Regions from separate parts of the Homo sapiens genome. Here all the other regions are linked to region 1. Evidence: promoter capture Hi-C in human tissues and cell types (Jung and others, 2019). All regions are on one chromosome and are shown on one strand. The core of a region is centred on a gene start or on the middle of the fragment in contact, and the rest is flanking DNA. Distances in the headings are between cores, read along the strand shown. Region 1 holds the start of PC (pyruvate carboxylase). Region 2 holds the start of PELI3 (pellino E3 ubiquitin protein ligase family member 3). Region 3 holds the start of RBM14 (RNA binding motif protein 14). Region 4 holds the start of RBM4 (RNA binding motif protein 4). Region 5 overlaps KDM2A (lysine demethylase 2A).

Region 1 (4,499 bases), core at 843-3,342:
TCGGATCCAACCCAAGGTTGGAGTTCTTCAGGACGGGTAGAAGGAATGACAGGGAAGTTGGAGTGAGAAACTACTTATACAAGAAGTCTGAGAGAAGAGTCAGATCTCTCCAGGCTCAATAAACAATTTCTAGTTAGCAAGATGTTCTCATAGTCTTTGATTCTCCTTTTTGGAAGCAGGTTATTTTTTCTCTTTGCCCTTATCACCATCTGATGTACTATGTATTAATCTGGGCCGGGCGCGGTGGCTCACGCCTATAATCCCAGCACTTTGGGAGGCCGAGGCGGGTGGATCATGAGGTCAGGAGATCGAGACCATCCTGGCTAACAAGGTGAAACCCCGTCTCTACTAAAAATACAAAAAATTAGCCGGGCGCGGTGGCGGGCGCCTGTAGTCCCAGCTACTCAGGAGGCTGAGGCAGGAGAATGGCGTGAACCCGGGAAGCGGAGCTTGCAGTGAGCCGAGATTGCGCCACTGCAGTCCGCAGTCCGGCCTGGGCGACAGAGCGAGACTCCGTCTCAAAAAAAAAAAAAAAAAAATATATATATATATATATATATTAATCTGTCTGCTCTCCTTTGAAGGCAGGATTTTGGTTTGTTTGGTCACTCCCTTATCCCCTGGTTGGCACAGACCCCAGTTTACGCAGCGGTGAATGAAAGTAAAAATCTCGGGACCCCCCCCCAGCGCCCCAATTCATGCGAAAGTGAAGATTAAGCCTTGAAGCTGAGTCACTGCAACACCCTCTTCCAAAAGAATAGCTGTTACTAGCATTAGGCATCAGCCATATCCACACGGAAAGGTAAAAACCTCAGGCATTTGGGAAGGGCTGCCCCCACAGATCATTCACAAGTAAATTCTTGCTGGCCTCCCATAAACAAGGACAGGTCAATTGTAGCTTCAGGTCTACAATCTAAGTCTAGCTCCTAAAAATTCCACAATAAGAATGTCATTACAAGCTTATTTTCCCAGGTGCAGAACAAAGTCAAAACTACCTACTCAGAGACATCTGCATAACTGACTCTTCCTTTACTCTCTTTTTCTCTTCAGACATTCATCTCATCTTACGTAGATTTACCGGGCATTAGCTAAAGTCCCATAGGAATGTAACTATTGTCCTAATCGCCTACTTGCCCTTCTTCCTACATGCCTTCCCCTCATTCCCCCTTTAAGGAAATGCATAAATACTAAACCTCCCGAAAACCTCTTCGGAAAAACAACCACGGATGTGTCTGTGGTTCGTGTTTTTCCCGAGCACGCCCTCAAACTGGATTAATAAGCCTCGATGACAGAGACTTATGCCTCAGTCACTTGTTCCACTTGTCAAAGCTTTCCTCTTTGACAAGTGTCTTGGGTCTTGTCAAGTGTCTTGTGTCTCAAACAAGGCTTCCAAACCCCCTAGGTCCTGAGTAGCTTCGCTCTGCAGATGACAAAACCGAGACTCAGAGGTTAAGTTGCTTGCCCAAGGTCACACAGACGTACTGTAGACCCCCATCATCATCTACGCAGCTGTTAAAGGACATAGTCATGTAACCCGTGTGGCACAAGCGCCTTCTCCTTCCTCCTGCCCTTCGCTAACGTTAGCTTTTCCTGCGACCTCTTCTCCGCTAGCCAGCGCGTATCTGCGTCTAGCCGGGATGCCTGAGCCCCAGTGCGAACTGTTGTGCTTGCAGCTTCGGGAGACACGTGCTACTCGGGTGAATGAATCGAACGTCCCCACCCCCGCCGACAGCCAATAACTGCGAGCCACAGCCCGGCCACTTCCGCCTATTGCGGGCGTCGGCTAGGGTCCGGCGGCCCACGTGAGGCTCCGGAGACAAGGGAGTAGGCGGTGGTGCGCCAGGGGCGGGCTCTCCCAGCCTCGCCACTTATCCAGGCGCTCGCCGGGGACGGGAGGGGCGGGGCTGACGTGGGGCGCCAAGGCTTAAACGTGACGGACAGGCGGGCACAGGGAGGAGTCCAGAGCCTAGGGGCGAGGAGTGACGGAGAACACTGCCCAATAACGGGAGGGGTTGGGCTGTCTGGGCCAATAGGAAGTCCGTAAGGCGGGGCCGGGACTGCAGCAAGTTCGGTTGCACGGAGACCGCAGCTGTTCTCTGTCAGTGGAGGCAGCAGCGGTAGAGGCGGCGGCGAGGACTGGCGACGGCGAGGAGGTGAGTGTCCGCCGCGCTCCGCACGGTCCTCTTCCCGCGGCGGGTCGGAGCGGGTGGACGTGCGCCGGCACCGCTGCGAGGGACGCTTATGTAAGGGTCGCGCGCGCAAAGGCGGCGCGGGCTCCGCGAGTGACGGCTGGAGGAGACAGCGACGGGCTGTGCGCGGTGCGCGACGCGACGCAGCGGACGGCGCCCCTCCCCCTCGCGCGGGGGCTCGGCCGGCTGGACCCGCCCCCGGACCCGCCCCCGGCTGCAGCCCCCGAGCGCCCCTCCGCAGCGTCCGCCTGCGGGCTGCCTCATTCTTGCTCTCGGGCCCATTTTGCAGATGGAGAAACTGACTAAAGCGCCTCGCGCGAGGTCCCTGAGGGTTCGAACCCAAGTCTGTCAGGATCGGGAGCCCAAGTTGTCCCCATCGTACTGGATGTGGCTCAGCTCTGCAGGAAGCCGCGGCGTGTAAGGCGAGGGCTTTCCTTGTTCCTTGCTCTCGCACTCCGCCTCCCGTAGGATCCTCTACTTTGTTTCAGACGGGGAAGCTCCAGGCGCCCAGACGCAGTGATTCGCCCAAGGCCGCTCATTCAGGAGGTGGGGCTGGGCTCAGCCCCTTATTTCTCCAGCTTTTAGTAGTTTACAAAGCGCATCAGAGTCGGAAGCCAAGTCCCTAGGTCCCTGGCAACTTTGAGATTCTTTTGTTTTCTTTTCTTTTTTAGACAGGGTCTTGCTGTCACCCACCCAGGCTGGAGTGCAGTGGCGCGATCTCGGCTCACTGCAGTCTCGACCTCCCGGGCTCAAGCGACCCTCCTGCCACAGTCCCCCAGTGCTGGGACTACAGGCGGGCGCCACCACGCCTAGCTAATTTTTGTATTTTTTGGTAGAGACGAGGTTCCGTCATGTTGCCCAGGCTGGTCTCGAACTCCTACGCTCAAGCGAGCGGCCTGCCCTGGCTTCCCAAAGTGCTGAGATTACAGGCGTGCCTCGTCTGAAATTCTAAAAAATCAGATTGTGTCTTTATTTTGTGAGAAGAGGTAGGCCTGGGCTCCTTACCCGTTCTCCAGCTGAGAAAACAGGCTCAGAGAAGTACCAACACTTGCTGATGACAACCAGAACCTCCAGAGTGCCTGCCATCTGCCTCCCTATTGCTCCCGTACCCACTGCCACCATCAGCCCTGGCTGGCCTCCCCCAAGGCACCCTTTCCCTGTATGTGATGCAAACACTTGTGCTGGGGGTGGATGTGCTCAGCATTTCTCTCACTTGCAGCTACAGCTTCCTGCCTGCAGGCTCTCCTTAACTGTTGAACTCTTAATCACATTCTTTTGCACACCTACAGTGTTCCTATCCCTACACTGGGCCGAGAGACAGCGTGGGCGATGAGGTCAATCCTTGTCCTGCAACTGCTGACAAACCCATTGGGGGAGAGAGAAAATAAACAAAACCTAAGCAGCAAGGCAGCCTGCTGCAGATGTTTGTAGAGAGCCTAGTGGGTGAGGTATTGGCCCTAGGAGGACATGGAAGAGGAAGTTCAGTAGAGGCCAGTAAATCACAGCAAACCACACACTAAAGCGAGAGAGAGGAGAAATGGCCTGGAAGGGGATGGGCTTGGGAAGGCTTCGTGGAGGAGGTGAGTTGTGGACCTCTTTTTGATGCCGCTGCAGTGGAGAAACAGTGATTGGATTTCAGCAGCTAGAAAGTTTTATTCTGGAGAGGTTTTGTTAAAGAGGTTTTTTTGTTTTTGTTTTTTGAGATGGAGTTTCGCTCTTGTCGCCCAGGCTGGAGTGCAGCGGTGTGATCTCAGCTCACCACAACCTCCGCCTCCCGAGTTCAAGCGATTCTCCTGCCTCAGCATCCTGAGTAGCTGGGATTACAGGCGCATGCCACCACACCTGGCTATTTTTTGTATTTTTAGTAGAGATGGGGTTTCACCATGTTGGCCAGGCTGGTCTTGAACTCCTGACCTCAGGTGATCCGCCCACCTCGACCTCCCAAAGTGCTGGGATTATAGGCATGAGCCATCATGCCTGGCCAGTTACAGAGGTTTCAAGCAATTAGAACTGGAAGAGGAAGGCTGAGGAAGGTGGAAGGAGAATGTGGGGGAAACAGCTTCACTGTTGGGTGTAAGAAACTTGATTGGTCACTGGGAAGAGGCCTCTACAGGAGATGTAACCAGGTGAGGGCACTAGGATTTGCTAAGGTGCAGGTAAGTCAGTGACTGGAAACCAAACTGAGGAAGCAAGATTAGATGCAAAGGTAGACGGGGCTGGGCGCGGTGCTCATGCCTGTAATCCCAGCACTTTGGGAGGCCGAGGCGGGTGGATCACCTGAGGTCAGGAGTTCGAGACCAGCCTGGCCAA
Region 2 (4,499 bases), core at 1,110-3,609, 490 kb after region 1:
TTTTTTTTTTTTTAAAGCATGTGTCAACAAACAGCCATTAAAAAAAAATCTTAATGATAATATAGCTTATCAAATAGTTTCTTTAGGACTGATGGCAAAGAGAGGCCAAAAGGAGATCCAGATGGGGGAGGAGGAAGAGGGTCTGTCCCTGGGGAAAGATCTGAGTGGATGGTGCAGGGATCCTGGTCAGGCAAAGACCAGGAAGGGATGAGGTTGGCCAGGCCGCCAGATCACGTTGCTTCCTCTCTCCTGGCCTTGGCTTTCTCATCTGTAGTGTGAGGGTCAGCTGTGGCTTAGTGAAAGCGCACTAGACCTAGAGTAAGAAAGACCTGGGTCCAAATCCCAGCCCTGCCACTTACCAGCTGTGTGCCCTTGGGCCAGTCACTTCCCCTCTCTGAGCCTCGGTTTCCTCACCTCCTTCCTCACAGCATCTTTGTGAAGATTGAAATGAAATAATGTCCATGAAAGGGCTTGGCACAGGCCTGCCTCCCAGAACACTCGATATGTGCTAGGCGCTGTTCTATGTACTTTACAGAAATCACCTCATTCATTTCTTCCAACAACCCTCTGAGGAAGGGATTATTATCATCCCCATTTGCAAAACAGGGGAAACAGAGGCACAGGGAAGTTCAGCAACTTGCAGAGGCAGGATTTGAACCAAGCAGTTTTGCTGGAGAACCAGAGTTCTTCACCCCACACCACACACACTAGGTGCTTTAGGAAAGGCAGCTGGTGTTAACATTTTTCTCATCTGATCAGGAAGTTGGGTGGTTAGAGTTGTCACAGTACTTTGTGAAAAATGGGAAGATAAAATAATAATTATGAATTGAGGTGGGTTTGGTCAATTTTGTCTTTCAGCTAGGAAGGTGAGGAGGGACAAACAGCTGAAGGCCCTATGTGGGGGGAGGAGGGGTCGGGCCCTTGTTCTGGCTGCGTTGGGTGGGTGTCTGGTGCTTCACCCCTTCTAGGCCAGGGATGCTCACCCCAGGACGATGAGTTCACCATACTTGATGGGCTCCTCGCCTGGCTGCGCATCTTCACCGGGAGAGGAGAGAACGCAAGAGCCCTTGTTCCCCCGGTGCTGGAGGTCTGAGGTTCGGGGGGACCCCACTTCAGGGTTTCCTTCCAGCACCATTCTGGGCAGAGTGGGAGAGAAAAGAGCTTTGTAGGTTCCCACCCCAGCCCGGCTCAATTCCAGCTGCAGCCTGCTGCAGGGCCGCCTAGGCTAAGGCAAGGGTGACCTTTCACCGCCTCTACTGCTATGGCAACCACTTCCCCTCTGCCTCCTCTAAACTGCCCGAGGTTGCTGGGATACCAGGGAGGGGTGGCACAGTGAAGAGAGTCAGGATATTCAGTGGTGCCAAAGAGATGGACCAACTTGGGGTGGCCAGAGGCTGCTTTTTGGCCAAGATCCCAGTCTGGGATGTGCTTCAAAGCGGGGCACCCAATGAGTTGGGGGCCGTTACCCCTCATCTCAGACTCAGTTCCTGCTTATAGCTCTTAGCCTCTGGACCTCTGATTTAGCCTCTCTGACAGGTTCTTTGAATCTACCTGTCCATCTGAATCTTTCTTGCCCCTTTGAGGTCTAGGCCTCTGTCTGTCCATCTGCTTTCTCAATGACTCTCTGTCCTCCCAGCCGCTGTCCTTTTTGCCGTCTCTCTCCCCCCATTCCCCATCTCTGCCTGTCTGCCCGCCTCCGCCTCACCATCTGCCTCAGTCTCCCCATCTCGGCCTCCCCCTGCGGGTAGGCCAATAGACTCCTCCTGGGTGCGCGCTCTTCCCTCCCTCAGGTGTCTGTCTGCGTCCCCAGCCGCCCGGGTCTCAGGAGGCCTGCGGAGGCGGCGCTCCCCCCTCGAGCTCGGGCTGCAGCACAGCCGTCTCCCGCAGGCAGCCCGTTTGGAAAACATCCCCGCGCCAGAGGGACCGCGCCGGGGCAGGCCCGCGCCCTGCGCCCCGGGCGGGCAGAACGGGAACCGCGGCCCAGCACCTACGCAGGTCCACACCCGGCGGCCCCTCCGCACAACACGCGCGCGTGCACGGCCCCGCACGCCCCGGGCCCGGACGGCGCAGAGACCACCCGCACCCGCGACCGCAGGGACGCGCGGGCGCGCAGCAGCCACCGGCGCCCGCCCTCGGACCCACTCCCTCCACCACCCCCAGACACGCAAACACGCCCCCCGCGCCCGCCGGGGCCCGCCTGGCGCAGCCCCCGCCCCCTCCGCCCCGGCGGCCTCACCTGGCCACGCTCCGGGCCCCGCTGGGCGCCGCTCCCTCCCCGCCTAGCCCCTGCTCGGCCCCGGGCCGCTGCGGCGGGATGGGCCCGGCCCGCGGCGGCTCCGCGCTGCCTCGTCACGGGGACACCCAGGGCCGGGGGAGGGGGATGAGCGCGAACAGCCACGCTCCGCCCCCTGTCCGGAGGCCCCGCCCCATTTTCCCCGCCCCTAGGAGAGCTCCGCCTCGCTCCAGACTCCGCCTCTTGCGGCGATGCTCAGCCTTCGTAGGCGGAGCTCCGCCCCTTCGCAGGAGACCACGCCCTTCCCCTGGTACCGCCCTCTGACCAGGGAAGCCCCGCTCTCCACTCCGTCTGAGGGACTCCCTTGCCCCTCCTAGCCGGCTCAGGACTCCCCCGTAGTCTACACGACCCCTCCCCCATTTCAGACTCCCCAAACTCCGCCTCCATTTCCGGGGACTCCGGGGTTCTCCCAGAGACATGGGCGCCCCTCCCCACTGTCGGTCAGGGCCCTCACACGGCGCTGGAGGCCCCTTCCCTAGCCTTAGGCCCGGGACTACGCACCCCCAGCTCCGACACCCCGCCTACCATCTGGGGACGCCACGCAATTAGAGGAGAGGAGGAAAATGCTAAAGGCAAAGGGGGTGTGCGGCAGCGGTGGAGGCCGGGGAAAGCAGCTGCAGTTGACCAGAGTCGCAGACCTGTCTTCCAGCCCAGCTCGGGCACCCCCCATTCCCCTCCCCTCAGTCCCCTCCCCTCCGCCAGGATGCACACACCCCCCGCTGTGCTGCAAAGGAAAGAGAGTTTTGGGGGAGCACCGCCCCTTCTGGGCCTGGGGCTTGCGAGAGATCTATCAGTCTACGTTAGGCGCTGTGCGCTGTGCTTTGAGCAAATTAAACCCTTTACTTTAATCCTGGGAGGCAGGCACGATAGTTGCCCATTTTACAGATGAGGAAATAGATTTACAAAAGTGACTTGCTTGTTGTAGTTTGCTAGAAACGGGCCAAGAGAGAATCTCAGCTGTATGAGTGGCTTCAGTCTCAACTCCTAACTTCGTACCTTGTCGTTCTGACTAGGGATGGAGCCTCAGAGGTGCAGAAGAGAAACCTTGTCTGCATCAGGTAAGGTCCCTATTGCTCAGTACTCTTGGTCTGGAACTATAAAGGCTGGATTATAGTTCCAGATCAAGTCTTTGGTCTTGTGGGGGGCGGTGGGGGTGTTTAATGAGAAAATCAAGGAAGACTGCACAGAGGAGGTGGCTTTTGACTTCCATTATGAAGGATGCATGTTTAGTTTGCCTAAACATTCCTGAGAGGGAGCCGCTGCCACTCCCACCCCCACAAACTTGTTGCACCTGAAGTTCCCCATCTACCAGACTCCCCTGGGGCCCTACTATATCCACCCCGCTAACTCCTCCACCTAAAAATAGCCAAAGATACCAACTGCTTTGCCAACTGTTCTGGGGCCCAGCGGCTAGATGAAACAAGAAAGCAGCCGACGGCACATCCTTTAGGGGAAAAGACACTCGTTAGTCACAGAGAATCTCCCTGCGAGACTTCCACCAAGCAGGACACCACCAGACCGCTGGGCTGCTGGCTGCAGGTCACACAAACCCTGTGACACAGGATAGCTGCCCTCACTGATGCCACCAGAGGCGTCCATTGTGCTGGGTGTGCACGGGGACCCTGGGACAGCCTCACTCCCTTGTGTACCCCCAGCTTTTAATGCATTGCCTGCCAGAGCAGGTCCTCAGTGAATATATACTGAATCCCTGTTATAATCCCCAATTTACACACCAGGAAGCTGAGGCTCAGGCAGAAGAAGAAACTTGCCCCAGGTCACAAGCCAGGCAGATGTGGAGCTGATGCTTCACAGGAGCCCCAGTGCTTCCACCTGACACTGGACTGCATGGAGGAAGGTCTGAGAGGGATCACCAAGACTCACTGGAGGAGGAGGCAGGGATTTCTCCTGGGGCAGTACTGGGATTGGAGCTGCATGGTGGCACAGCCAGACCATCAGGCCTCAGGGAGGCTGAGGTGGGCCCGACACCAGGATTGCCCAAGTAAGGGAGAGGAAGGGAGAGTTAGGACACCAGTAGCAGATGCCTAAGTTCCAACCTTGGCTTCTGGCTCTAAATCCAGCGCTCTGCTCCAAGAACTCCAGCTTCTTAATCTCACTAAGCTTCAGTTTCCTTATGTGTAAAATGGGAATAATAATGATACTTGTGGTGAATAGGATTTTGCAGTATTGCTTTGAAATTCCTTTGTCA
Region 3 (4,499 bases), core at 1,097-3,596, 340 kb after region 1:
ATTTTTGCTAATCAAATGTTTACAAAGGAACAAGATGCACAAAACTCCGTCTAACTCTCACAAGGAGTCAGCCAGGAGTTCTAAAAATTCATGTGCAGTTATGCACTTCACCCGCATCGTCACTTGGTGTTGGGTCCCAAGCAAATTTCAGGCAAATTTTTGACTTTCTCTACCACCTGAAAGCCAGCAAGAAGCCTGAGTTCCAGGGAGACTGTCCCTTCAGATGTTTGACTCTAGACTCTCAACCTAGTAGCCACTCTACCTAACAACCACAAAAGAAACTTGGTAAGTCAATTAAACACAAAACTCTCACAAATGAGACTCATATACCCCACCCTTTTGCTGGACAAGTACCCAATCTGAGACCCTCCCCCACCACTCTTTTACTCTAAACAAAAGCAAAAATCCATGCACCATACAGCCTGCCTCAGAGCACCCAGCAGGAAAGCCCGATTCCGGATAGTCGTGGACTTGTATAACCTGAGTTGAGGAAAATAGAATGCAGTATTAATGCAGAACAAGGACTTGTTCCTAGTAGTGGACACTATGACCCTTTATATTTCCCCCACTTAAAGGACTAGGAATGGCCCCAAACATGTGCCTTTCCAGGACAGCAAATGAAATATCTTGGTGGGATAAATAAGCACTTGCACCCACATTTATTTCCTATCCCTGAAACTTCTCACACAGGGTATGAGCAGGTATGAACCCACCAGGAGTAGGGCATCAGATACTCCCAGGCTGCATCTTCCAAAATGACAGGGCAAAGTTAACTCTGATCTGTTCCCAAGTGGAGCAGAGACTGGCCACATACACAACGGCTGTCCCACCAAATCTTGCCAATGTAAAAGATAAAGAGCTTAAGGGATAAAAACTCAAGCTATGAAAAAGTCAACTGGGTCCCTAGTCAGGCTTAAATTATGGTGACACATTTTTCTCGAAGAAAAGGCACCGGGATCTGCCCTGAGAATCAGACTACTCAAGCAATGACTACTACTGATTCAGTAAACCGTGTTTAGCCACTGTTTAATGAAGAGCTCTCACAGACCCCTCCCCAGGACCCCCTCAGCCAGAGTATGCCCCCCTGCAAAGTCACCAAGCTTATAAAAGAATGACACTGCCCTAGGGCACTGGCTTGGCATGTAAAGACTACGCAGAAGGGGACTTCATAAAACAAGCTTTCTTGCACATGCAAAAGGCTGGGGTTTCCAGTTGACAGATGTAAAATCGAGCCCAAAGAAAAACCCCAAGTTTGAGGGAGGAGAAAAGCACAGAGCTGCCACGCCTAACCTACCTAATATTGAAAGGCCAAAGTGATTCGGAAGGGGCCCCTCTCGTACCCACGTGTAACTGTGCCCATGAGTAGACCCATGCCAGACAAGACTAAAAGACCCCAGCCCGAGAAACGTCCAAGGGCCCCGTTACCTTCCGCTTGAGCACATTCATCGGGAGGGAACAGGAGGGCGGCCTTGGGGCGTCAGCCCCCACCTTTTCCCTCTTCCCTTGCTCTGACCGACGTCTGGAGAGGAAGTGGGGAAGTGGAGAAATCTTCCCCGCTTCATGATCCGGCTTGTGCCCGTCACTTCCCAATTTCCGCTGGGTGCCAGGCCCAGGAGACCAGGAGAAGGCGCGCCCCCGGAACACTCGCAAGGCTCTCAGGCGCGTCCCCGGCCCCGTAGCTTGGCTCGCAGTGGCCGCCGCACCCACCCAGAGCCGCTTCCTCCTACTTGGTGGACGGTTCCTGGACCGCAGGGGAGGAGGGTGGCTCTACCCAACGCGCCCCCAACACCTCCGACCTGCTCCCGCGCACTTCCCCACCCCTCCCAACCGCGCAGTGACCGACCCCCGGGTAAGGGGCGTGGCTAACAGGCAGAGTGCCCCGAGCGCGCCCCCGCCCCCGAGCGCGCCTCCGCGTTACCTTTCACCACGTCACACTCGATGACGCGTCCGCGGCGCTCGAAGAGGCTGCGCAGTTCCTGGCTCGTGCATGCAGCCGACACATTGCCCACGAAAATCTTCCAAGTATTAAGAGGCCTTGGGCGCGACATCTCCACCACGAGCGCGCGCCCCGGCCGCAGCTCGTGGCCGTGCAGGGCTTCGATGGCGCGCAGCGCGCCCGCGTTCTCGCGCATGTGCACGAAGGCGAACTGTTTCATGACGGCGCAGCTCATGACCGTGCCGTAGGGCGCAAAGAGGGCTGCCAGCTCCTCCGGAGTCGTATCCGCCCCGTCGACGTTGCCCACGAATATCTTCATTTTGTCGCCGCAGCCACCTTCCTGGAGAGCCCGGACCTCTCCTCCAGCGACAGGCAAGACGTCCGAACGACCGGCAGTCCTCCTCAGGAATGGCTGGCGACCGAGAACCCCGCCGCGCAGGCGCCCTGGCCTAGCCAATGGGGACTCGCATCCCGCGCGTCCAGCGACCAATCAGAAACGCTGAGGGAAGATGTGCTCAGGCACAGCCAATCCCAGAGGGCCTAGAGCCCGCTCGTTAGCTGAGGGGGTGGGAAAGGGACGACCAACCGCCACAGCCCGTGGCGGGAGAGGGGGTTGGGAAGAAGAGGGAGGGCTGAAGAGAGGAGAACGCGCGCGAGCGGCGCCGGCGGCAGAGAGGCCTAGTCTGTAAGGCGGTCTCTGGCCCGGGTGGGGCTGGGACCGGCGGGCTCCCAGGAAAACTTTGTACAATTGGAAGTCAGGGCTCCTCCCATTCTGGAAGCCCTGTCCAAACCCGCGCCTGGGGGTTGCCGCGTGAGTGTACGGGGGAAGGCCGGGCCTGGCGGGAGAAACCAGGACAGGCGCCTTGAGTCGGCAAACGGCTCCCAGGACTGTGCTGAGCACCGCGAGGGGACCTGAGGCAGGCCCCGGAGAAGCCCTCGTGCCATTAATTGATTCTTTGGAAACATTCCCTGGGGTTGCTGAGGTCCTGGCAGCCGGTGAAAAATCAAAGGCCTCTGCCCTGATGGAATTCCCAGTCAAGAAATAATGGAATGACGTTATTGTATGTTGAAGGTTTTCATAATAAACAGTTTAATAAACGAGAAAATTAATTCTGCAGGAAGCAAAAGTTGAGCCTTAAAAAAAATTTTAGTCCGGGAGCGGTGGCTCACGCCTGTAATTCCAGCACTTTGGGAGACCAAGGCAAGCAGATCACCGGAGGTCAGGAGTTCAGGACCAGCCTGGCCAAAATGGTGAAACCCCGTCTCTACTAAAAATACAAAATTAGCCGGGTGTGGTGGTGCGCGCCTGTAATCCCAGCTACTTGGGAGGCTGAGGCAGGAGAATCACTTGAACCCGGAAGGCGGAGGTTGCAGTGAGCCAAGATCACGCCACTGCACTCCAGCATGGGCGACAGTGAGATTCCGTCTCAAAAATTTTTTTAAACAGATTTGAGTATGTAAATAAGATTGTTGCATGGCAGACAACATCAAAAACATAGACATGTGACAAACTCAGGGAAATATTTGCCTACGTGTTCAGTCAACAAATAGCACCTACCATGTGGACACCACCAAGAATATAGCAGTGAACAAAAAAAAATGACAGAAATCCCAACCTTCTTGGATCTTATGGTGGGGAGAAACAGGCAAGAAATAAGTAAAACATAAGCGTGTTAGATGGTGATGAGGACTTGGAGTAATCAAGGGAACTAAGCCATCCTCTGAGGGAAGATCATGCCGGCCAGAAAGTACAAGTCAAAGAGTGCTGGGGCAGAAGCAAATCTGGTTCAAGGAAGAGTCAAGAGCCAGTATGGGCCAGGCCCGGTGGCTCACGCCTGTAATCCCAGCACTTTGGGAGGCTGAGGCGGGCGGATCACCTGAGGTCAAGAGTTCGAGACCAGTCTGACCAACATGGTAAAACCCTGTCTCTACTAAAACTACAAAACATTAGCTTTGCGCAGTGGCAGTATCATAGCCAATGAGGTTTATCCGAGGCGCAATTATTGCTAATTGAAAACAAAACATTAGCCATGCATGATGACTGGCACCTGTAATCCCAGCTACTCAGGAGGCTGAGGCATTAAAATCACTTGAACCCAGGAGGTGGAGGTTGCAGTGGGCTGAGATCACGCCACCACACTCCATCCTGGCCAACAGAGCAGGACTCTGTCTCCAAAAAAAAAAAAAAAAAAGAGCCCAATATGGCCAGAACCTGGAACAGAGAGCAGAATAGGAGGGTGGGAGTTGTGTAGCACAAGGCCATTGAAATGGCATGTGCTTGGGCCAGGCGAGGTGGCTCACGCCTGTAATCCCAGCACTTTGGGAGGCTGAGGCGGGCGGATCATGAGGTCAGGAGATGGAGACCATCCTGGCTAACACGGTGAAACCCCGTCTCTACTAAAATACAAAAAATTAGCCGGGCATGGTGGCGGGGGCCTGTAGTCCCAGCTACTAGGGAGGCTGAGGCAGGAGAATGGCGTGAACCCGGGAGTTGGAGCTTGCAGTGAGCCGAGATCGCGCCACTGCACTCCAGGCTGGGCGACAGAGCGAGACTCCGTCTCAA
Region 4 (4,499 bases), core at 832-3,331, 320 kb after region 1:
ACACAGGTTTGAAATATAGCAAGGAGTCACGGAAATACTCCATAATTTGAATAAGGCTTTTTTTATTTTTTATTATTTTTGTTCAGTCCTGCTTAATTAAGCTAAAAAAGGACACCACTCTTTTTGACACTGGGAACCCAAAGGAGGTGAAAGAAGAGTTCAGATAGCAACTCACCATGATCACCACCCCTGAACTGCCACTGTTGCTTCAGACCTCAGATTTTGGAATATTTGCGTTCTACGTACCATTTTAGCATCCCAAATCTGAAAATTCAAAATCCAAAATGCTCTAACAAGCATTTCCTTTGAGCAACATGTAGGCATTCAAAATGCTGGGGATTTGAGATGCTTCCAAATGAAGTGACAATCCACATATCACCCATGCTGCCCTCCAGGCACAAAAGATTCATTTGGTTAAGACTCCAAGATAACACAAATCTAAGTGCTCTATTCACCAAAATCTTATAAAGTCCAGCCCCCCAAACCAATGAAAAGACAGTCATTACCGCCCCTAAAACCCCAGTGCCTCCTCCCCAGGAAGTCCTAAAATCAGCCTTGTAATTCTAGAGTGGCCTTAAACTCAAAATACAATCCCTTGGTACAGGTATAATATAAAAGCAACAAGAGCTGTAACCCTTTAAAGAGTTTGTGTAAGGTAGGACAGCTTAACAAGGATTCTGGTCCTATAAGTGTCGCTTGACATGTTTTTGAGAGGTTCTTCACGTAAAATGCAGAATTCTGATCCTGTGCTGAGGGCAATAAATTCAGAGTGAGGAACTCTGAACTGTGCTCTACTACAAAAAAATAAAAAATAAAAAAGGCCCAGTAACTCAGAAAGCCTTCAAAGAAAAGGGTTTCTGCACTGATAAGCACAAAAGCCGTAGGGGCTCCAAATAAAAGGTGAGTGGCTTTTCTCCAGGAGACATTTGCCTAAGGTAAAGCCCCTAAGTCCCATGCATTCTACATCATAAGAAGTCCATCACCCACACTTATTTCTTCATCACCAGCCAGCCAACAGCTGTTATCTTTACCAAACCTCTCCTTTTACTTATCCAACCATTTTCTGCACACAGCCTTGTGTTCAGCCCTCTACCCAAAGAGGGTGGTTCACCTTGAAACTCTGTGTTATCAAGGCCCCTGATGGCCTCCACTGCATCCTCTGCCCGCTCCATGTGTACGAAGGCATAATCTTTCACGATGTCACATTCGATGACCGGACCATACTCCTCAAACTTGGCTCGAAGCTCCTTATTGGTGCAGGTGGGACTGATGTTGCCCACATGCAACTTTGTTGAGGTTTTGCTCTTATTCTTGCTGGCTTCCACGTTGATGTTCACCCCATGAAGCTTGTAATGGTGCAGGTTGCGTATGGCATCCTCAGCTGCCGTCTTGTCTTCTATGTGCACAAAGCCGTAATTCTTAATGATGTCACATTCCAGCACCTTCCCATACTGCTCGAAGAGTGAGCGAATCTCCTGCTCTGTAGCCTCCCGGGGCAGGTTTCCGATGAACAGCTTCACCATCCTGACAAGAGCCTGGGAGAGAAAAACAAGACATCTGACAAAAGACCTCAGGCCCACATCCGTTCACAAAAGACAACGACTTTCACTCTAATGTATATTTCCAGTTTTCTCTCTCACACGCCTGCACACACACCTCCACACAATAATCAAATGGAAGTGGGAGTGAACTAAGGCCTGCTATAGTAGCCGCCATGAACCTGTAAGAATAAGAAGACGTCTGCAATAGGGAGGTCCTTAGTAGACAAAGGGTTTGGTAAGAACCGATACCTTCCAACAGAAATGGGCATGAAAGACAGCATATGAAGAAATGGGGGTACTAGGCTTTTCTATCCACTAGGAGGACAACAGAAAACAAAAGTCTACTAGGCTTGCTGACTGCCTGCCTGAAATTATCAACAGGCTTTTCCTCACGTAGGAACCAAAGCAGCCATCATTTCCGGGAAAATGGGCCTTGTAATAGCTACATTTGAGTTTCCTTTGGAAGTAATGAACGCGCGACTCGGATCAGACAGCGAGGAGTGGGAGATAAAGGAAATACTGGAGTGGTGAACGCCTCTCTCGGGGCACCGTCCTAGCTCCTGCCGAACACTGAAATGCGCGGCCGCGGAAAAGAGCTTCAGATTCATTAACCAGACGATGTCTCACGGCCCGAGAAATTCCCGAAACGAGAATGTAACTGTCAGATATAAGGGAAAGGGGGTTATCCCAGTGGAAATCTCGAGGCTCCAAGAGCAGCCATGTCGGGCGCGGGACAGGGTGGGCGAAAAAAAGCAAGGTATTCTCAGGGGGCGGTGGGGGAAGGGCTGCTCCCGGCTTACCGCGCAATGCCGAGGACCGAGGTCGGCTCTCAGTGACGGGTGTGGAGACTGCGGACCTACCAGGACACCCCCGAAGCCCAAGGGAGTGAGAGAAGATTTAACACAGTACAAGAAAGGCAGTGGAAAGGCTCGGAGTCTCACCCGCACAGAAACCAGCAGGGCCTCCTCCTCGCGGCGCGGACGCTTCTGACAAAACGCTAAAATGGCGGCGGCCGCAGCAGTGCTCTGAGTAGAAGGGGGAGGTGAGCCTACAACCGGATTGGCCACTCAAGAAAGTAAAAGGCCGGCGTTCCCTCAGATCCTCTTCCTGATTGGTTACCACGGACGCCAATTACCTAAGAGGCCGGCAAGAGGTGGAAACGTCTGTAACCTCGGAGCTTTTATGCGAAAGCCAATGGGCACCAACCTCGCGAAGCCGAACTCGCTGATTGGGCAAGAGATCAGCGTGAGGGCGGACCTACAAACGTGGGCTTCGCCGGCGGGGTGCGGCCCGCCATTAGGCGGAGCGAGCTAGAGCCCCGGGGTAGCAGTCTTTAGCTTCATGGCGCCAACTTCGTTAAGCTTCCACATTTCGCCACCTCCACGTGCACAGCCAGACAGTATTCCGCGCTCCATTTTGCCGTTCACTCTAGGTGTCTCCCTCTAACCTCCCAAGCACCACCCCCCCTCGCGGCCAGGACGCTGTGGAAATAGCTTATGCAGGCACATGCCAGGGAAGAAAAACAACGAAGACCCCCCCCAACCCACCACCCACCACTTCAGGAAACCAACCTTCTCCTTGGGCCAGCAGTCCACACTGTAGCCTTGAGAGTCCCGGAGCTCCCCCAAAATCAAACCTCTCACAGGTGGTGAAAGGACCTCTGTAATGGCCTTCCAGAAGTAGGCCCGGCAGGAGGCTGCACTGTCCAGGAGACGCTGAGGACAAGTTCCCTCTGGGAACCAGCCTCCCAGGGTCCGCGATGAAGAAACCTTTCTGAGACCATGGAGATTTAAAGTATACCCCGACCCCACCCTGAGAAAAAACTGGAGCAGCAAAGGTTTTTTTGTTTTATTTTATTGGGCGCCATCAGCCAGAGCTGTTTTAATCCCCTAGAACCGACTTTAGAGGACAGAGCTTAGTCACAACCAGCTGTAAACAAAATACAAAGTAACATTCTCCAGAGGGTCCAGCTGCTGCCTCGTTTTCTCTCATCCTTAGGCTGCTTCATATTCATTAAGCAAGCAACTTTAGTCAAGACCCTTTGCGAAGCAGCTTTTGAAAAGGGTTAAAAGGTGGAGTGCAGGGACTGGATGGAAGAACTTATAACACGAACAAAACAGGCTAAAAGCAGTGCAGAGTTTATGAGGAAAGGGATCATCAGGAGTGAAGATGACACAAGTACCACACACCACCATCCAAAGCAGCTTCTTCACCACCACCCCCGCCCCAAAAAGAGAACGGTTTCATAAAGAGAAAGGTGAAGTCAGAGTTTGGGGGGGAAAAAAAAGAGTGGGTTTTAAAACCCAACACGAGGGCCAGGTGCGGTGGCCCACGCCTGTAATCCCAGCACTTTGGGAGGCCGAGGCGGGCGGATCACCTGAGGTCAGGAGTTCAAGACCAGCCTAGCCAACATGGTGAACGCCATCTCCACTAAAAATACAAAAATTAGCCCAATGTGGTGGCAGGCCCCTGTAATCCCAGCTACTCAGGAGGCTGAGGCAGGAGAATCGCTTGAACCCGGGAGGCAGAGGTTGCAGTGAGGCAAGACAAGAGTGGCCTGGACGACAAGAGTGAAACTAAAAAAAAAAAAAACCCAACATGATTCAGGAATCTGACTGCAGAAAACTGGTCAATAATTTATCCTAGGGTAGAAAAAGCTAAGGAACTAAAAAAAGAAAATATAACATTTACAGATGTGTTGGTCACTAATCTTGTCCACTTCATTGTGGATTCTGATGCACCTCTGAGCCTGTGTAAAGGCCACGGGATCAGTGATGAAGAAAATCAATTTCGTCTCAGCTGCCACGTGCCCTTCAGAGGTGGCCAGCATTAGAAGGTAACGCATATGGTATAGAAATCCTCTCATCTCCTTCAGTTAGATCTCTTGTCTCAACATGTCTGGGGATAAAACTTTCTTCCAAAATACCAAAGTATAACAAGGATCAACTCATTGTAAGT
Region 5 (4,499 bases), core at 891-3,390, 270 kb before region 1:
CCTGGGCAAAAACAGTGAAACTCAGTCTCAAAAAAAAAAAAAAAAAAATTCTCATAGTAGGAAAACCCTATTCTACCTATGTACACTTTCAAGAGTCAACATTACCCACAACCCCTCCCAAACAGAACCTCATACACACGCTGATAGCTTTACCAGTTTACCGGTAAGGCAATACTTCCTTTCTTTTTTCTTTTTTTTTTTTTTTTGAGATGGAGTCTTGCTCTGTCACCCAGGCTGGAGTGCAGTGGTGCCATCTGGGCTCACTGCAAGCTCCGCCTCCCGGGTTCACGCCATTCTCCTGCCTCAGCCTCCCAAGTAGCTGGGAATACAGGCGCCCGCCAAGACACCTGGCTAATTTTTGTATTTTTTCTAGAGACGGGGTTTCACCATGTTAGCAAGGATGGTCTTGATCTCCTGACCTCATGATCCGCCCGCCTCAGCTTCCCAAAGTGCTGGGACTACAGGCATGAGCCACCATGCCCGGCCTACTTTCTTTTTGAGACAAGGTCTCACTCTTTTGCCCAGACTGGAGTGCAGTGGTGAGATCACAGCTCAGTGAAGCCTCAACTTGCCCAGCTCAAGTGATCCTCCCACTTCAGCCTTCCACGTAGCTGGGATCACAAACACACACCACCACACCTGGATAATTTTGTATTTTTGTGGAGGTGAGGTTTCGCCACGTTGCCCAGGCTGGTCTCAAGAGATCTGCCTGCGTCTGCCGCCTAAAGCACTAGGACAAGAGGTGTGAGCCACTGGGCTCAGCCCAAGTCAGTACTTTTTAATGTCCTATTTTTTCACTTAATCCTCTTCCAACTCTATATTCTATGACTTGTTCTTCAACGCCTTAGAACCTAAAAAAAGCCCTTTTATCACAGCACTGAAATGCACTATTTTTCCTTGGAATATTATGAATATCTCATCTACCACTTTTCCCCTCATCTCTTCTACTAATTATTCCTGAAAGCCAGATAGGTTACAACAGCAAACAATTCCTTTCTCTGCAGGAAGGGTAAACTGTACTAGCTTTGTCCCCCACTGAAGTATAGCCATCAGTGCTATAAGCACCAAGTTTTCTAGCACTTGAAAGTCCCCAGCTGTGCAGTGATTCAGCAGCTACCCAATCTAATGCTTTTTTCTTTTGAGTGATGCTTAGATTCTCAAGGTATTCAAGCTCTAAGCTTGCTATATCTTTTCTGAGATTTAGCATAACTGATCAAATATAGGAATAATTAATCTATTTGATCTTAAGTGAAACTACACCTGCAGAGCTGGAATCTAAATCTGTTGTCTTCTGACGTCAGCTACATTTTGACTGTGGTTTTGGGTAAACGAGAAGCTGTGGACAAGTCTCTGGAGGGAGAATTCAAACACTGTCGGCCTGTGTAGTCATCTCACTGGCTACTTGTTCCTCATGCTCTGGCCTCTGCCACTATATCTTAGCCAGTGATGGCAGTCACGTTTTTCAGTGGTCCCTGATAAACACAAGCAAGCTATCTCCGGACACTTTTCATAATGCTAAGCCTCCTCTTTAGATGTCTCTTCTTAACTCCCCTCTCTTCTTGCTGACTCTGCTTAATATTTAACCCAAATCTTTCTACTTTTTCCTTTGGTATACCATTGTACCACCCTTTCACCTCAAATCTCCTTATTTAGCTACTTTAGTTAAACTACTCCAATGGATTTGTTGTTGTTGTTGTTGAGACAGGGTTTCACTTCCATCACCCAGGCTGGAGTGCAATGGCGCAATCTCGGCTCACTGCAACCTTTGCCTCCCAGGTTCAAGGGATTCTCCTGCCTCAGCCTCCTGAGTAGCTGGGATTACAGGTGTCTGCCACCACACCCAGCTAATTTTTGTATTTTTAGTAGAGACGGGGTTTTACCATCTTGGCCAGGCTGATCTTGAACTCCTGACCTCGTGATCTACCTGCCTCGGCCTCCCAAAGTGCTGGGATTACAGGCATGAGACATCGCACTGAGCCTTTTTTTGTATTTTTAGTAGAGATGGGGTTTCACCATGTTGGCCAGGCTGGTCTCGAACTCCTGACCTCAGGTGATCCTCCCACCTTGGCCTCTCAAAGTGCTAGGATTACAGGTGTGAGCCACTGTGCCTGGCCCCCCTAAATTTATAAAATGGCTTAAAAGTAGCTTAAAATAATCTATGTGAGGTTTTCAAAATAACATTACAACTTGTAGATTAGCTTTCTAATATACATACCCATTGTTCCAAACACTGATTTAAAAATAAAATTGCTATTTCCAGCTTTACAATTCTTGGTCTTCACATTAATTGTTACTTAGGAGGAAAGACTTAAAATAATTTCCTCCAGTTTAGATAGCTCAAGGTTGGGTGTGGAGGCTCATGCCCGTAATCCCAGCACTTTGGGAGGCTGAGGCAGGCAGATCACCTGAGGTCAAGAGTTCGAGACCAGCCTGGCCAACATGGTGAAACCCCATCTCTATCAAAAATATAAAAAAATTAGCCAGGCATGGTGGCACGTGTCTGTAATCTCAGCTACTCAGGAGGCTGAGGCACGAGAACTGCTTGAACCCGGGAGGTGGAGGTTGCAGTGAGCCGAGATCTTGCCATTGCACTCCAACCTGAGCGACAGAGTGAGACTCCGTCTCAAATAAATTAATTAATTAATTAAAATTAAAAAAAAAAAAAAAAGCTCAAGTCTGGATTCCTTAAGAAAAATATACAATATGAAGGGGAGCTGGAGGAGGGATAGCATTAGGAGAAATACCTAACATAAATGACGAGTCAATGGGTGCAGCAAACTGACATGGCACATGTATGTCTATGTAATAAACCTGCACGTTGTGCACATGTACCCTAGAACTTAAAGTATAATTAAAAAATAAATAAACATAAAACTTGATAAAGCAATGGGATGAATTATTTTAAAATGATGCTTTTCCCAATGTATTTAAGTCTTGATGCTAGATAAATTTGAATCTAAAGAGGCTAAAGCTACTCAACGTTAACCCAGCATAGAACAATTTCATTTCTCTCAATCTGCTTAGGATGAGACTCCTATCAGTCACTTTTGTCCTGAGTTTTATCTCAAGGTAACTTAAGTTTAATGTAACATTTCTTATATAAATATTTTCTTTGGGTCACTTTATTTTTGGGGTCAGCCTGAAACCTATGTTTAAGACTAAATTTATAAGTCTTCAATGAACACATAAATGTTAGTATTTTCAAAACAGGGACATAACCTCATTCTAGTAATGAAAACACTGAGCAGCAATAACAAACACACATGCATATTAACTTCTCTCTGACTGAACCAGAGATCACCCAAAATTCCTATATTTTCTCCCTCTGAATCTGGAAGCTGACTGCCATAGCTGGATCAGTAGCTGTCATGTAACACATCAAACCCTTACCTTTACATCAGCAATGAGAGCATCTTCATCTTCTATCCCTGTGGGGACACATTTCTTGTGCAGTGGCAGAGACTCCAACTTATCTACAAGGCAGCGAAGGCCTTCAAGCTCAAAATGGGTCAGATGCACTTGCCTGTCCTTTCGGGGAGCACACTGGGGATCCCACACTTGTCCATTGTGGGAGCCCCGGCTACAGTCAGAAGATGAGTCCCCAGCCAAAGTTTTCTTCAGACTTGGAAGACTTCGGCAGGTTTTGCCCAGTCCATCATAATCCAGGTTGACTCCATTCGCTACAGGGCTAGTGAGGACAGAACGCCTGCTGCTCAAGCGTCGGGGTTCTCGATCCACTGCTTCCTCATCCCCATTCCCAGACTCCAACCCATTTAACTCCAAATCTACCAATATGAAGAAAAAATGCAGTAAGAACATTTCACTCTGCCATGTGATCAGCAAGAGAAATAGGTGGCATGATAGGGGCCTTGAGGCTATAAATGACAAAATTACCACATTTAAAAAAATGGTCTATCTTTATTCCAACCCATTTGTCCACTGTTCAAAATCACAGTTAACAGGTAGAAACAGGATCCTGACCTAGGAGGACACCTAGGTAATAGTCAATTGGATTTTTTAAAGTTTGGGTAGGACCTAGTCTTTGAACTGTGTACTAGAAATCAGTTACTTATCAAAGTGGTTGTAAAGTCAGTTTCAAGTTAAAGCTTGAATCTGGGATTATTATTTCATTACCTTTTAAAAGAGAAGACACTAAGAAGCATGTATGTTTAAAAAATAGTTTTAGCCTGGGCAACATAGTGAGACCCCATCTCTACATTAAAAAAATTAGCTGGGTATAGTGATGCATGACTGTGGTCCCAGATACTAGGGAGGGTGAGGTGGGAAGACTGCTTGAGCCTGGGAGGTTGAGGCTGCAGTGAGCTGCGATCATATTACTGCACTCCAGCCTGGGCAAGAGAGTGAGACCCTGTCTCAAAAAAAAACAAACAAAAAAAAACCAAAAAACTTTTTTTTTTTGTCTGAAGTTTTGGTCTTAAAATCAAGCTTTGGAGTTGAAATTCTAACAACATAAGTAACAAAACAAAGTGACTATTTTT

The links. The method cuts DNA at HindIII sites, captures the fragments that hold promoters and counts their contacts. A contact is called where the count stands out against the background at its distance.
Region 2: the fragment with the promoter of PELI3 here is called in contact with the fragment with the promoter of PC in region 1 in 1 of the 25 tissues and cell types used here (mesendoderm cells).
Region 3: the fragment with the promoter of RBM14 here is called in contact with the fragment with the promoter of PC in region 1 in 1 of the 25 tissues and cell types used here (hippocampus).
Region 4: a fragment that was not itself captured here is called in contact with the fragment with the promoter of PC in region 1 in 1 of the 25 tissues and cell types used here (dorsolateral prefrontal cortex).
Region 5: a fragment that was not itself captured here is called in contact with the fragment with the promoter of PC in region 1 in 1 of the 25 tissues and cell types used here (dorsolateral prefrontal cortex).

The regions. Positions count from the first base shown.
Region 1 is chr11:66,955,976-66,960,474 of GRCh38, reverse strand. PC (pyruvate carboxylase) reads left to right here and starts at 2,092. Exons shown (of 23, transcript NM_001040716.2): 1 at 2,092-2,153. RefSeq lists silencers at 1,655-2,014, 2,335-2,434 and enhancers at 2,085-2,134, 3,298-3,677. The HindIII fragment of the contact is 6,851 bases long and covers 1,145-4,499 here.
Region 2 is chr11:66,464,765-66,469,263 of GRCh38, reverse strand. It overlaps PELI3 (pellino E3 ubiquitin protein ligase family member 3), which reads right to left and starts at 2,359. Exons shown (of 8, transcript NM_145065.3): 1 at 2,237-2,359; 2 at 984-1,136; 3 at 360-431. The coding sequence starts at 1,135. RefSeq lists silencers at 1,872-2,221, 2,232-2,441 and enhancers at 3,393-3,892, 3,893-4,394. The HindIII fragment of the contact is 25,810 bases long and covers 1-4,499 here.
Region 3 is chr11:66,614,477-66,618,975 of GRCh38, reverse strand. It overlaps RBM14 (RNA binding motif protein 14), which reads right to left and starts at 2,346. Exons shown (of 3, transcript NM_006328.4): 1 at 1,919-2,346. The coding sequence starts at 2,255. It overlaps RBM14-RBM4 (RBM14-RBM4 readthrough), which reads right to left and starts at 2,346. Exons shown (of 2, transcript NM_001198846.2): 1 at 1,919-2,346. The coding sequence starts at 2,255. It also overlaps the pseudogene RNU4-39P. RefSeq lists enhancers at 2,101-2,330, 1,463-2,396, 2,761-2,870. The HindIII fragment of the contact is 10,275 bases long and covers 410-4,499 here.
Region 4 is chr11:66,636,736-66,641,234 of GRCh38, reverse strand. All of the region lies in intron 1 of RBM14-RBM4 (RBM14-RBM4 readthrough), which reads right to left. RBM4 (RNA binding motif protein 4) reads right to left here and starts at 2,532. Exons shown (of 4, transcript NM_002896.4): 1 at 2,483-2,532; 2 at 1,112-1,535. The coding sequence starts at 1,523. RefSeq lists enhancers at 1,656-2,367, 2,234-2,603, 2,368-3,081. The HindIII fragment of the contact is 5,623 bases long and covers 1-4,499 here.
Region 5 is chr11:67,230,852-67,235,350 of GRCh38, reverse strand. It overlaps KDM2A (lysine demethylase 2A), which reads right to left. Exons shown (of 21, transcript NM_012308.3): 12 at 3,391-3,785. Among named protein-coding and RNA genes, the nearest start is that of GRK2, 33 kb to the left of the region's middle. The HindIII fragment of the contact is 4,272 bases long and covers 5-4,276 here.